Linked DNA regions of Homo sapiens: all the other regions are linked to region 2. Evidence: promoter capture Hi-C in human tissues and cell types (Jung and others, 2019). All regions are on one chromosome and are shown on one strand. Each heading gives the region's core, a stretch centred on a gene start or on the middle of the fragment in contact. The rest is flanking DNA. Distances are from core to core; before and after follow the strand shown. Region 1 overlaps EVI5L (ecotropic viral integration site 5 like). Region 2 holds the start of CAMSAP3 (calmodulin regulated spectrin associated protein family member 3). Region 3 overlaps TIMM44 (translocase of inner mitochondrial membrane 44). Region 4 overlaps LRRC8E (leucine rich repeat containing 8 VRAC subunit E).

Region 1 (2,815 bases), core at 128-2,627, 260 kb after region 2:
GTGAGGAGGAGGGAGAACTGCCACTTTGATGGACGAGCCCCGTAATTGGGCCACAAGCCACCCCACCCTGTAATTTGGAAGTCTTGCCCTCAAAAGAAAGGAAAGGAAACCCAGTGGAGGAGAAGCGTGGCGCCATGGTGGGGAGCCACAGCCCGGACTCTGCTCCCCAACATGCTAAAGATGGGGGTGGAATTGGGGGCTCACTGAGCCCCAGCCCCGGGAGCCCCCAATTCCTGCTCCTCACTCGTCCTCACTTGACCCTCCACTGGCCACAGGAAGTGGGTTGGCAGCCGGATTTGGTTGCCCTCACCCCAAAGCCTTGTTCTGCCTTAAAATTACAACGCACCCCCTCCTCTCCCACTCTCCAGGAGGTCCGCACGAAGCCAAAAGTCCCCCTGCCCCCCACAGTTTTTCCAGCCAGCAGCGGCCCGGCTGACCCTGGAGGGTGGGACAGTGGGTTTCCCAGCCCTGCGGCCTCCCCCACAGCCGCGGGCACCCCCGACCTCCCCGCTCACACCGAACCCCTCTCCAGGACGGAGCTGGCTCTAGCTTTGGTCTTCCTCCGGGTCCTCTCCTGCTGGTTCTCTGGTCTTCCCTCCTCTCTCCCCCGCTTCTAGAGATAGTCCACTGCGTTAGTGACAAGTGGTTCTTGTCTGTCTCCCCTCTCCTGTCCCCGCGCCTTCCGCTCTGCCTCCTCCCCCTGTCGCTGGGAACCCCCTTCGCCGGGTAGGAGAGCGCTGCTCTGGCTGATAGGTTAATCCAGGTACTGTAGCTTTTTATCCCCTCTCCGGATTCCTTCCTGGCCCCTTCCCTGCACCCTGCACATGACAGCCAGTAACCGCCTCTTCCCTGCCATTCTGCGGGCAGGCCTGGCGCCATGCATGGAGCAGCTGGGGACCGCTTCTGGGGGACACAGAGGCTTCCCGGGGGGGCGGGGCATGTGAAGTGGGGAGAAGGGTGTGTGTGGAGGGGCTGTGAGTGCGTTTGGGTGTGAATGTCCACATGCATGTACAGAAAGCTTCCTCCGGGCGACACAGGGTGGGGACCCAGGAGGGCTGGGGAACCTAAAACCATATTCACATAAGGCCCTGGTGTGTGCAGTGCTGCGGTCACACACACACACAACACATGCACACACACACACGCACACACACGCCCGGCCCTCACGCTGCTGCTCTCTGCTCCTACCTGCAATGCCTGCTACCACCTTCTCTAGCTCACCTGCTCCTGCTGCCACCTCATCTTGAATGGCTTTATCTGGAAGCTGCCACCCGCCACCTGGTGGCTTTGAGCCTGGAATGGGGGGCCCAAGTTGGGTAGGGGACAAAGATGAGGTGGGGGAAAAAAGGGGGTCTTAGCTCCAGGCAGGTGGAGGCCCCAGAGCCCAGGACTAGAGAAGATGCCGCTGGGAGAGGTGAATGCCCTGGGGAGCCCAGCCCTCTCCTGCCGGGGCCTCAGCTGTCCCCAGATCCTCACCCTCACCGGCAGAGTCTGGCATGAATAGGCACAGGTGGCCTCGCTGTGCCCCTGGATAAGGATCCCAACTGGGGCAGAGACTGAGAGCCAGAGTGGGGAAGGAGATGGAGCTTTCCAAGCCCAGGGCTAGCTCTGTTCCTCCCGGGCTCCTCCAGGTGTCCTATTCCTGCCTGTCACCCACCCACGTCCCCAGGCCCAGTGGGACGCTCATCCCAGGCTCTGAGTACGGGAGGCCCCCACCTCACTTCCCCCCACCTCCACTCTCTGGGCCTCCCCCTGTGGCGGGAGGCAGGGCCTTGGGTGGGAGCCGAGGGTCACGGCCTCCCCCTGCCCCCTGTCCTCGCTGTTCTCAGGGGCAAGTGACACGGGCGCAGGAGGCGGAGGAGAACTACGTCATCAAGCGGGAGCTGGCGGTGGTGCGGCAGCAGTGCAGCTCGGCGGCCGAGGACCTGCAGAAGGCACAGAGCACCATCCGGCAGCTACAGGAGCAGCAGGTAGGGGCGGGTGTGCGGGGCTGCTGGGCGGGGCCATGACCCGCGCCCCCGCCCCCGCCCAACGGTTTTCTTTCAGGGCTCATAATCTGCCCCGCCTCAGCACCTGGCCCTCCTGTTCCTTTCTGGGGTAAGGGGAACCCAGAGACAAGCGCAGATTCTCCCCCAGCAGCTCCACATTCTGAGACATCCTGATATCCATTTCTTGCCACCTCATAGTGTGTCTGCAGTATCTGACTTCCCAACCCCCAGCCTCAGCACGGAGGCCTCTGAAGACCGGGCTGTCCCTGCAGGGTTTCCTCTGTGTCACAGGCAGCAGACAGGGCTGTGACTCCTTACGGAGGCTCTTGCCTGTCCCCAGGGTCTGAAGGATTGTTAGGTGTCCCTGGGGGGCCAGCCATGGAGAATGGGAGCAGGGCAGTCCGGGACTGTTTGGGGAGCTCTGAGCCAGCAGGGTGGGGCTGAGGGGGCACCTTGAGTGTCTTGAGGGCCATGAACTTTGGGTCCCATGATGGGCAGGCCCATGAGTGGGGCCCCACCCCAAGATTTTCTTCTCCTGAAAGCTTTTAGAACTTAACTGCGACCTGGTGCAGTGGCTCACGCCTTAATCTCAGCACTTTGGGAGGCTGAGGCAGGTGGATCACCTGAGGTTAGGAGTTCGAGACCAGCCTGGCCAACATGATGAAGCCCCATCTCTAATAAAAATACAAAAATAAGCTGGGTATGGTGGTGCGCACCTGTAGTCCCAGCTACTCAGGAGGCTGAGGCAGGAGAATCACTTGAACCCGGGAGGTGGAGGTTGCAGTGAGCCAAGATGGCACCACCGCACTCCAGCCTGGGTGACAGAG
Region 2 (3,116 bases), core at 37-2,536:
CTTCTGCCTCCCTGGTTCAAGCGATTCTCCCGCCTCAGCCTCCCGAGTACTTGGGATTACAGGCATGCACCATTATGCCCGGCTAATTTTTAAAAATTTTATTTTTAGTAGAGACGGGGTTTTGCTATGTTGGCCAGGCTACTCTTGAACTCCTGGCCTCAAGTGATCTGCCCGCCTTGGCCTCCCAAAGTGCTGGGATTACACTCGTGGCCACCGCTCTCGGCCTGAAATACACACACTCTCAATGTCTCTCCATACTCCTGCATTGACAGAGGCATCAATAACAGCCTCATACAACACACCAGTACGTTCAGATGCACAGAGATAGACATACTCACAGCACTCCAAAAACACACACACAGCCGGGCACGGTGGCTGCCGCCTGTAATCCCAGCACTTTGGGAGGCTGAGGCGGGTGATCACCTGAGGTCAGGAGTTTGAGACTAGCCTGGCTAACATGGTGAAACCCCAACTCTACTAAAAATACAAAAATTAGCCGGGAGTGGTGGCGCAACCCCGTAATCCCAGCTACTCGGGAGGCTGAGGCAGGAGAATCGCTTGAGCCTGGGAGGCGGAGGTTGCAGTGAGTCGAGATCGCGCCACTGCACTCCAGCCTGGGAGACAGAGTGAGTGAGACCCTGTCTCAAAAACAAAAACAAAAACAAAAACAAAAAACAGACACACACTCATCACTTCCATCCATCCTCAGGATACAGACATCTATATAATACATATCCTTGTACACACAACAAATTAAACACACACTTACACGTGCCCAGATACATACCCCACACACACACACCCCTAGACACCCCCCAATACACTTGGTCACCACCCAAATGTATTCAGAGATACACAGATACGAAGACACTCATATTCTTGTGCCTTCACTAACATAATCAGAAACAGGTGCACCCAACCACTCTCTGCCTGAGGGCCGGCGTTTATTGCAAGCACTTGCAGGAGCTCCTACGCCTAAGGGTAGACACTGGGGCTGGCACACACAGAGGGTCCCTAATCCTTTCCAGTAAGCTAGGCGCGCGCGCACACACTCACACACGCGCGCGCGCACACATACACACTCAGTCCTCCGCAAGCTCCCTCCACCATCGCCGCAGTCCAGGCCGCCCCCCTCCGCCCCGCCCCTGCTGCTCCGTGCACACTGCAGTGAGGGGCCCGGGCGGGGCGCAGGGGCGCGCCAGGGTCCGGGTCCGGGTTCGGGGGCGGGGCGCACCTGGGCTCCTCCCCGGGGCGGGCCCGACGCAGCGTCGCCAGCGCAAGCGGCCGCACCTGGCTCAGCAGCGGCGGCGGCGGCGGCGGCGGCAGCGGCGGTAGCAGCAGCGGGCCCGGCTGGGGCGCGAGCGCGGCGCAGCCCAGCCCAGCCCAGTCCGAGCGCGGACCCGGCGCCCGCAGCCCCGGCGCCGCCATGGTGGAGGCGGCGCCCCCCGGGCCCGGGCCGCTGCGGAGGACCTTTCTAGTGCCCGAGATCAAGTCGCTGGACCAGTACGATTTCTCGCGGGCCAAGGCGGCGGCCAGCCTGGCGTGGGTGCTGCGGGCCGCGTTCGGGGGCGCAGGTACCGGGGCTCGGGGGACCGGGGTCGGGGGCGGCGGGCCGGGCGCGGCAGGTGCTGGGGGGGGGCGGGGCGCCGGGCCGGGAAGGCAGGGGGCCGTGGGAACAATAGCGCCGGCCGCCGGGGGTCCCCGGGCTCGGGCCCCTGCCGCGCCGGGGCCTCCGAGCTTCCTGCTCGGCCCGGGCGGTGGACTTTGCCCCGCCGGCTGCGGGAGCGCGGTGGGGGTGGGGCCCGCGGCCCAGCTCCGCGCGGGGGTCCCCGGCGTCCAAGCCTCCAGGTGAGCCGGGCGGGGTCTGCGGGCCGGGTGGGGTCTCCCCGTGCGGACCTCTCGTTCCCGCCTCCCGCACCCCCAAGGCCTTCCCTTGCACGCCTTCTTCTCTTTTACACACATCACGCCCCTGCGAGGATCTCCTCTCGGTCTCTTCCCCCGCCACACACCCTGGAGACCCAGACCCCGACCTCGCTGGGGGGTCTCGAGCGCTCCGGTCTCCACCACCGCACGACCCCCAGGCCCCAACACACACCCCGCGTCGGCCCTGGCCGCGCTGCGGGCGGCGACCGGGGAGCTCTGGGAACCCCCTTTCGCCTCCATAGCCCCCTCCAGCGCCTGGCAGCTGCGACTTATGGCCCCATTTTACTGGGGAGGTTGGCGAGCCCAGCTGAAGGGAAATGGGTAGTACAAGATCGCCTGGGGTGGGCCCCCCGCTCCTCCCGGCTGCGGGGCCTTCTCCCATTAGAGCAGATCCTTCACTCCCTCCCCCAGGCCCGCTTGCCTGAGAGCCCGAGCCACCCTAATGGGGAGGATGCCGTAATCCCGGGTCCCCGGGATTAGAGGCCCTGGAAACACTCAGTCTCGGCTTTGGGCAGCTTCACAACCCCAGGCCAGAGCTAGGAGTCAGGGCCTGGCCAGAGAAGACAGGGGTTAATTAAGGTCTGGGCTTTCCAGCGGGGAGCTGTGGGGGTACATCCTTTTCTCCCACTGGTTCTGCCCACTGGTGTTGGCACAGCCCATCCCCCCTCTCCCTGGCCTTCCCAGATCAACCTGTTCTGGGTGTGGGTCTCAGTGACAGCTGTCCGTCTCCTGGTTCCGCCCCAGCCTGTCCCTCTTTCTCCCAGACAGTCTCTGTCTGCGTCGTTCCATGCATGCATTTCCCACTCTGGGGTCTACCTCCCTGCAGATATTTGCTTGAGGAAGAAAGAGATTGGGCATTGGACAGCCAGGACAGCCCCAGCTCCTCACTTCCAAGGTTACCAGGCTGTAGAGAACTCAACGTGGAGTGTCAGAATTGAATGTGAAGTCCAGCTGCACCAGAATGCGAATTATCCCAATTATCTGAGCTTCTGTTTCCCCTTCTATAAAAGAAGGCGTTCATTCACAGACTTATCTGTTTTGCGAATGTTTGTGGGGCAGGGGCACTTGCTATGTGTAGGGCACTGCTCCAGTGATGGAGACCCCCCGTTACCTCTTTGCAAGGTTGCTGGGAGGCGTAAAAGCTGTAGTGACCACAGAATTCTTCGCGTGGCACGGGGCGCGTGATACATGCG
Region 3 (3,006 bases), core at 409-2,908, 340 kb after region 2:
AGACCTCAAACCTAGGGGCTCTGAGGACCCCGCCCTCACCTCTCACCCTCAAATTCGAGGGAGCCGGGAACCTTGGGCAGAAGGCAAACTCAAGAAACGGACTCAGGAGGGAACCATTGGTGGGCTCCCGAAATGGACAGCAGTGAAAGCTGCCCAAAATGGGGGCAGCGAGGGCCACGGGCTGGTACCTACTCGTTTGGCTCAAACACTTTCTCCTCCTTGAACTTATCTCCCGCAAACTCCGTTCTCTTCCGGAGTCGCTGGGGCCTCCGGTAGGGCCCGGTCTGTCCCAGGACGCTGTCGTCAATTTCCTTCTTCACGGACTCCACCCCCTGCGAGGGAGGCACAGCGGGGCTGGGGTGGGTGTCTGGGTTCGGCCGCCCCAGGCTGCATGCCCTAGCCCAGGACTGGGCTCACCTGGGAGAGGGCTCTGAAGGCCGCTGTCCTGCCCAGCTTCTCCCCGCCTTTGGATACCGACTCGGCCGACTGCTTGGCCGTCTTGGCTGCTTCCTCCACGCCCTCCTTGATTTTCCGGCCGAGATCACTTTTACTGACTTCGTGAAGGCTCTACTGAGACAGACACAGAGAGGGGGCGTTGGCACCGGCCCTGGCGGCCGGGGGGCGGGGCAGGAGGAATGAATTCCTGCCGGAGAGAAGGGCGGATCTGGTTCCCCGAGGCCGGCAGAGGCCTTCTGTGCTCCTGTGGTACGCGGCACCCCCAGAGCCATGAGCACAACGGCACCCCCAGAGCCACGAGCACACCGCCACCCCCAGAGCCACGAGCACACCGGCACCCCCAGAGCCATGAGCACACCGGCACCCCCAGAGCCATGAGCACACCGCCACGGCTTCCGGGATGCTGGCCCTGGGCTCTGGGTGAGACGCTGGGTCTGCTGGCCCCTTTCCAAAATGGGCAGGAGTCCTCTGGAGACCCGGGAACTGCCTGGCAGCAAGGATTCCCAAGGAGGGGACCCCGGGGAAAGAACGGCGGTGAGGGCGCCCCATGCTGCGCAAAGCTGGACAGAACAGACAACCGAGGAGAGCCGCAGCACCCCAGGAATCCTGCCTCCCGCCTCTACCCTCGGGAGGGGGTGGAAGCGGCCCCTCTCCTCCTATTTTTAGGCAGGAAAAACATTTTCATGTTCTCCTCGAGTCCTGGCTAGCAGCACTTACTGCTGCCGACTCCCTGGGTCAACGGTCATGCAAGGTTGCCAGTCTGACCTCACCCTGCATGTGCCGGGAACTCCTGAAACCTTCCCGAGGGTGGCAGCACGCCCCATGCCACCCACTGCTGCCAAGCCACCCCCACCCAGGAGCCGACTCTTCCTCCAGCCTCCAGCGGCCAGGGGACTTTGATGGCCCCAGCGGCTCCAGGCGGGCGTGGAACTGTTACCTCCTTCACGGTGCCCGTCAGCTCCCCAAGCTTCTTCCGTAGCACCTCGCTCGTCCGCACGGTTTCTGACTCGATGGTTTTCTAGGTAAAGAGCGCTGTGTCCTTTTTTTTTTTTTTTTTTTTGAGACAATGTCTCCGTTGCCGAGGCTGGAGTACAGTGGCACGCTCTCGGCTCACTGCAACTTCCTCCTGCCAGATTCAAGCGATTTTCCTGCCCCAGCCTCCCGAGTAGCTGGGACTACAGGGCCCACCACCATGCCTGGCTAATTTTTGTATTTTCAGTAGAGACAGGGTTTTACCACGTTGGCCAGGCTGGTCTCAAACTTCTGACCTCAAGTGATCCACCCGCCTCGGCCTCCCAAAGTGCTGGGATTATAGGTGTGAGCCACTGTGCCTGGCCAACCGTTGTGTCTTTAAGTCTGTATGTTCTGACACGGCAGTGACATTTCTCTTACAGCCAAAGGTCCAAGAAGCATCTTCTCCGCAGCCCCTCCCTCCCCGCACCTGCCAGCATGTGCTGCCTCCAGGGCCCCCGGCTGCCCACATGGCTTGGATTGAGGGTCTCAGCAGCGGTGAGCTCCTTGCTCAGAAGGCCGGCAGACTCGGGTCCCCGCTTGGCAGCTACCTCCTGAGAACAGGAGGCCCAGCCTTCACCTTTCACCGGGTGGTAGGAGGTGGCCTTGCCTGTCATCACTGTGCCCCTCATCCAGCCTCCAGCCACCACAGCTTGGTCTTATGTCTCCCGCTCCATCCATCCCACTCCAAACTCAGCCTGCTATGTCTTCAGATGACCCCTGCATTAATGATAAAGAGGGGCTGGGCATGTGAGCTGTAGTCCCAGCTCTTTGGGAAGCTGAGATGGGAGGATCGCTTGAGCCCAGAGAGTTCGAGACCAGCACAGGCAACATGGCGAGACCCTGTCTCTAGAAATATAAAAAAATTAGCCAGGCGTGGTATCCCATGCCTTTAGTCACAGCTACTCAGGAGGCTGAGGTGGGAGAATCACCTGAACATGGGAAGGTCAAAACTGCAGTGAGCTGTGATCACACCACTGCACTCCAGCCAGGGTGACAGAGCAAGACCCTGTCTCAAAAAACCAAACTAGGCTGGGCACGGTGGCTCATGCCTGTAATCCCAGCACTCTGGGAGGCCAAGGCGGATGGATCACCTGAGGTCAGGAGTTCAACACCAGCCTGGCCAAAGTGATGAAACCCCGTCTCCACTAAAAATACAAAAATTAGCCTGGCGTGGTGGTGGGCGCCTATAATTCCAGCTATTTGGAAGGCTGAGGCAGGAGAATCGCTTGAACCCAGGGAGGCGGAGGTTGCAGTGAGCCGAGATCGCACCATTGCACTCCAGCCTGGCTGACAGAGCAAGACTCCATCTCAAAGGAGAAAAACAAAAAACGAACAAACAAAAAAACACAAATGAAACCAAACCAAACCAAAATGCAAGGGACCCGTGGCAGGTGCCTGCATCTCTGAGGCTCAGCTGCTCATTGGTAAAATGGGGACACTGTAACTGCCTCGCAGGGCCCTTACAAATAAAGGAATGCAGAGCCATTCCCAGAAGCCAGGGCTTGGCAGCTGCTCAAGAAGAGAAGTGACAATTAA
Region 4 (2,965 bases), core at 1-2,500, 300 kb after region 2:
CCCTGCCCCTGGGGCCCTAGTAACCAGAGCCAGGCTCCAGCCGGCTTTTCCGGTTAGAGGTTGGAGGTGGTGCCCAGAGTGCCCCTGGAGGGGGTGGAGGGGCCTACGCCCCGGAAGTCCTGAGCCTTGGAACGCTTTCAGGCCTGGTGGCGGTGGGAGCCGGGGCTGGCCCAGACGCTGAGTGTCTGCAGTCAGGGAGCATCGAGGCAGATGTTTTCAGGCCTTGGTGTCAGGGGTGGGAGAGGGATGCCTCGTTTTGGGGAGGGGGCCACCCGAGGAGGCTGGAGGGCGGCGGCCCTGTGGACTATCCCTCATGTGCTCTTCGAGGTCAGACAAGTCAGATCAGGTGCAGGGGTGCCCAGAGGGGAACAGTGGCCGCTTGGTTCTGGGCAGGTGGTGACGTCTGCATGGAGGGTGACTAAGGCCAGGCTAAGAGGGAAGTGGGGGCACACACTTTGGTGGTTTGGACAAGTTTGGGCAGGGAGGGTCACAGGCCTGCCTGTGTCCGGCTCCTCGGAGGACCCCCTGCAGAGCCTCCCATCCTGAGGGTCTCTCTCTACACCCCCCGTCTCGTCCCGTCCCACAGGCAGCATGATCCCAGTGGCCGAGTTCAAGCAGTTCACGGAACAGCAGCCTGCGTTCAAGGTGCTCAAACCCTGGTGGGACGTGCTGGCCGAGTACCTCACCGTGGCCATGCTCATGATTGGGGTCTTTGGCTGCACCCTCCAGGTGAGGCCCTCCCCTGGCAAGGGGGTGTGACCAGAGGGGCGGGGCAGGTGTCTGGGGAAGTCGGGAAGCCTTCTCATCACCCAAGAAAGAGAGGAAACTGAAGACAGAGCCCCACTCAAAGGCCAATCCAGACCCCTTATCTTCCTTACCTCCATAGCCAGGAGCACCGGAGTCCCCACATTGCTATGCCATTCCATATCTTTTTTTCTTTTTTGAGACGGAGTCTCACTCTGTCACCCAGGCTAGAGTACAGTGGCATGATCTCAGCTCCCTGCAACATCTGCCTCCCGGGTACAAGCGGTTCTCCTGCCTCAGCCTCCTGAGTAGCTGGGATTACAGGCGCCCACCACCACGCCTGGCTAATTTTGGTAGTTTTTTAGTAGAGATGGGGTTTCACCATGTTAGCCAGGCTGGTCTCGAACTCCTGACCTCAAGTGACCTGCCTGCCTGGGCCTCCCAAAGTGTTGGGATTACAGGCCTGAGGCACTGCACCTGACCCTTTCTTTTTTTTTCTTTTTTTTTTTTTTCTTTTTGGCTAAAAAGAGACAGGGGCCGGGCATGGTGGCTCACACCTGTAATCCCAGCACTTTGGGAGGCCAAGGTGGGAGTATCACTTAAGGCCAGAAGTTTGAGACCAGCCTGGCCAACACGGTGAAAACCCGTCCTTACTAAAGACACAAATATTAGCCAGGCATGGTGGTGGACACCTGTAATCCCAGCTACTTGGAAGGCTGAGGCAGGAAAATTGCTTGAACCTGGGAGGTGGAGGTTGCAGTGAGCCGAGATCATGCCACTGCACTCCAGCCTGGGTGACAGAACGAGACTCCATCTTAAAAAAAATAAAATAAAATAATTGAAAATTAAAATAAAGAAACACGGTCTCATTCTGTCATCCAGGTTGGAGTGCAGTGGCATGATCACAGCTCACTGCAGCCTTGAACTCCTGGACTCAAGTGATCTTCCCGCCTCAGCCTCCAGAGTAGCTGGGATTACAGGCACACACCACCACGTCCAGCTAATTTTTAAATTTCTTGTTGACACAGGGGTCTTGCTATGTTGCCCAGGCTTGTCTCGGACTCCGGGCCTCAAGCCATCCTCCCACCTCGGCCTCCCAAAGTGCTGGGATTACAGGTGTGAGCCACTGTGTCCAGCCCCATATTTTCACAATGCTCAGTTTTATCCCTAGAATCTGGAAAGGACTGCAGTTGCTATATGAGTTTGTTACTTCTGTTGTAACAAAGTAGCAGGGATTGAGTGGCTTAAATAACCAGAAATGTTTCCTCTTCTGGGTCTGGTTCTGGAGGCCAGAAGTCTGAGATCAAGGCGTCAGTTGTCAGTGAGGGAGAATCTTCCAAGCTTCCCTCCTAGATTTTTGCAGCTCCAAGAGTTCCTTGGCTTGTAGATGACATTCTCCCAGTATTTTTCTTTTTCTTTTTCTTTTTTTTTTAGACAGAGTCTCCCTCTGTCGCCCAGGCTGGCATGCAGTGGTGCGATCTCGGCTCACTGCAACCTCCGCCTCCCGGGTTCCAACAATTCTCCTGGCTTAGCCTCCCAAGTAGCTGGGATTACAGGCGTGTGCCACCACGCCCGGCTAATATTTTTTTGTATTTTTAGTAGAGACGTGGTTTCAGTATGTTGGCCAGGCTGGTCTTGAACTCCTGACCTCGTGATCAGGATCAGCCTGCCTCTGTCTCCCAAAGTGCTGGGATTACAGGCATGAGCCACTGCGCCTGGTCGAGACAGTTTTTTTTTTTTTTTTTTAAGCAAGCTCTGTCACCTAGGCTGGAGTGCAGTGGCGCAATAATAGCTCACTGTAACCTTGTACTCCTGGCCTCAAGCAATCCTCCTCTACCACCCCCGCTTGGCCCCCCCTCCCACTGCCTCCCAAATCACTGGGATTACAAGCCTGAGCCACCGCACCCAGCCTCTCCCTGTATCCTCACGTCATCTTCTGTCTTTGTGTCTGTCTCTGTGTCTATGTTTCCCCTTTCTCTAAGGCGCAGTCATACTGGGCCCACCCTACTGGCTTTGTCTTGACTACCTCTGCAAAGACCCTATTACCAAACAGGAGCCGCCTGACCCAGCTCAAATAATACCACATTCTAAGGATTCGGAGTTGGGACTTCAACATCTTTTGTGGGGACACGATTCAACCCAGCTCCTTTTCTCAGACAAAGACCAGTGCTTTGTCAGTTGTGGTGGCTCATTCCTGTAATCCCAGCACTTTGGGAAGCTG

The links. Contacts are between HindIII fragments. The study calls those that stand out against the background at their distance.
Region 1: a contact is called between a fragment that was not itself captured here and the fragment with the promoter of CAMSAP3 in region 2, in 2 of the 25 tissues and cell types used here (dorsolateral prefrontal cortex and spleen).
Region 3: a fragment that was not itself captured here is called in contact with the fragment with the promoter of CAMSAP3 in region 2 in 1 of the 25 tissues and cell types used here (liver).
Region 4: a contact is called between a fragment that was not itself captured here and the fragment with the promoter of CAMSAP3 in region 2, in 2 of the 25 tissues and cell types used here (mesendoderm cells and thymus).

Annotation. Positions count from the first base shown.
Region 1 is chr19:7,856,362-7,859,176 of GRCh38, forward strand. It overlaps EVI5L (ecotropic viral integration site 5 like), which reads left to right. Exons shown (of 20, transcript NM_001159944.3): 12 at 731-763; 13 at 1,830-1,970. Among named protein-coding and RNA genes, the nearest start is that of PRR36, 17 kb to the right of the region's middle. RefSeq lists an enhancer at 956-1,741. The HindIII fragment of the contact is 4,169 bases long and covers 1-2,815 here.
Region 2 is chr19:7,594,577-7,597,692 of GRCh38, forward strand. It overlaps CAMSAP3 (calmodulin regulated spectrin associated protein family member 3), which reads left to right and starts at 1,287. Exons shown (of 17, transcript NM_020902.2): 1 at 1,287-1,574. The coding sequence starts at 1,427. RefSeq lists a silencer at 987-1,426 and an enhancer at 2,266-2,871. The HindIII fragment of the contact is 16,585 bases long and covers 1-3,116 here.
Region 3 is chr19:7,933,672-7,936,677 of GRCh38, forward strand. It overlaps TIMM44 (translocase of inner mitochondrial membrane 44), which reads right to left. Exons shown (of 13, transcript NM_006351.4): 4 at 1,394-1,474; 5 at 418-567; 6 at 193-332. Among named protein-coding and RNA genes, the nearest start is that of TIMM44, 8.5 kb to the right of the region's middle. The HindIII fragment of the contact is 6,270 bases long and covers 1-3,006 here.
Region 4 is chr19:7,895,013-7,897,977 of GRCh38, forward strand. It overlaps LRRC8E (leucine rich repeat containing 8 VRAC subunit E), which reads left to right. Exons shown (of 3, transcript NM_025061.6): 2 at 587-729. The coding sequence starts at 592. Among named protein-coding and RNA genes, the nearest start is that of MAP2K7, 7.4 kb to the right of the region's middle. The HindIII fragment of the contact is 4,312 bases long and covers 1-2,965 here.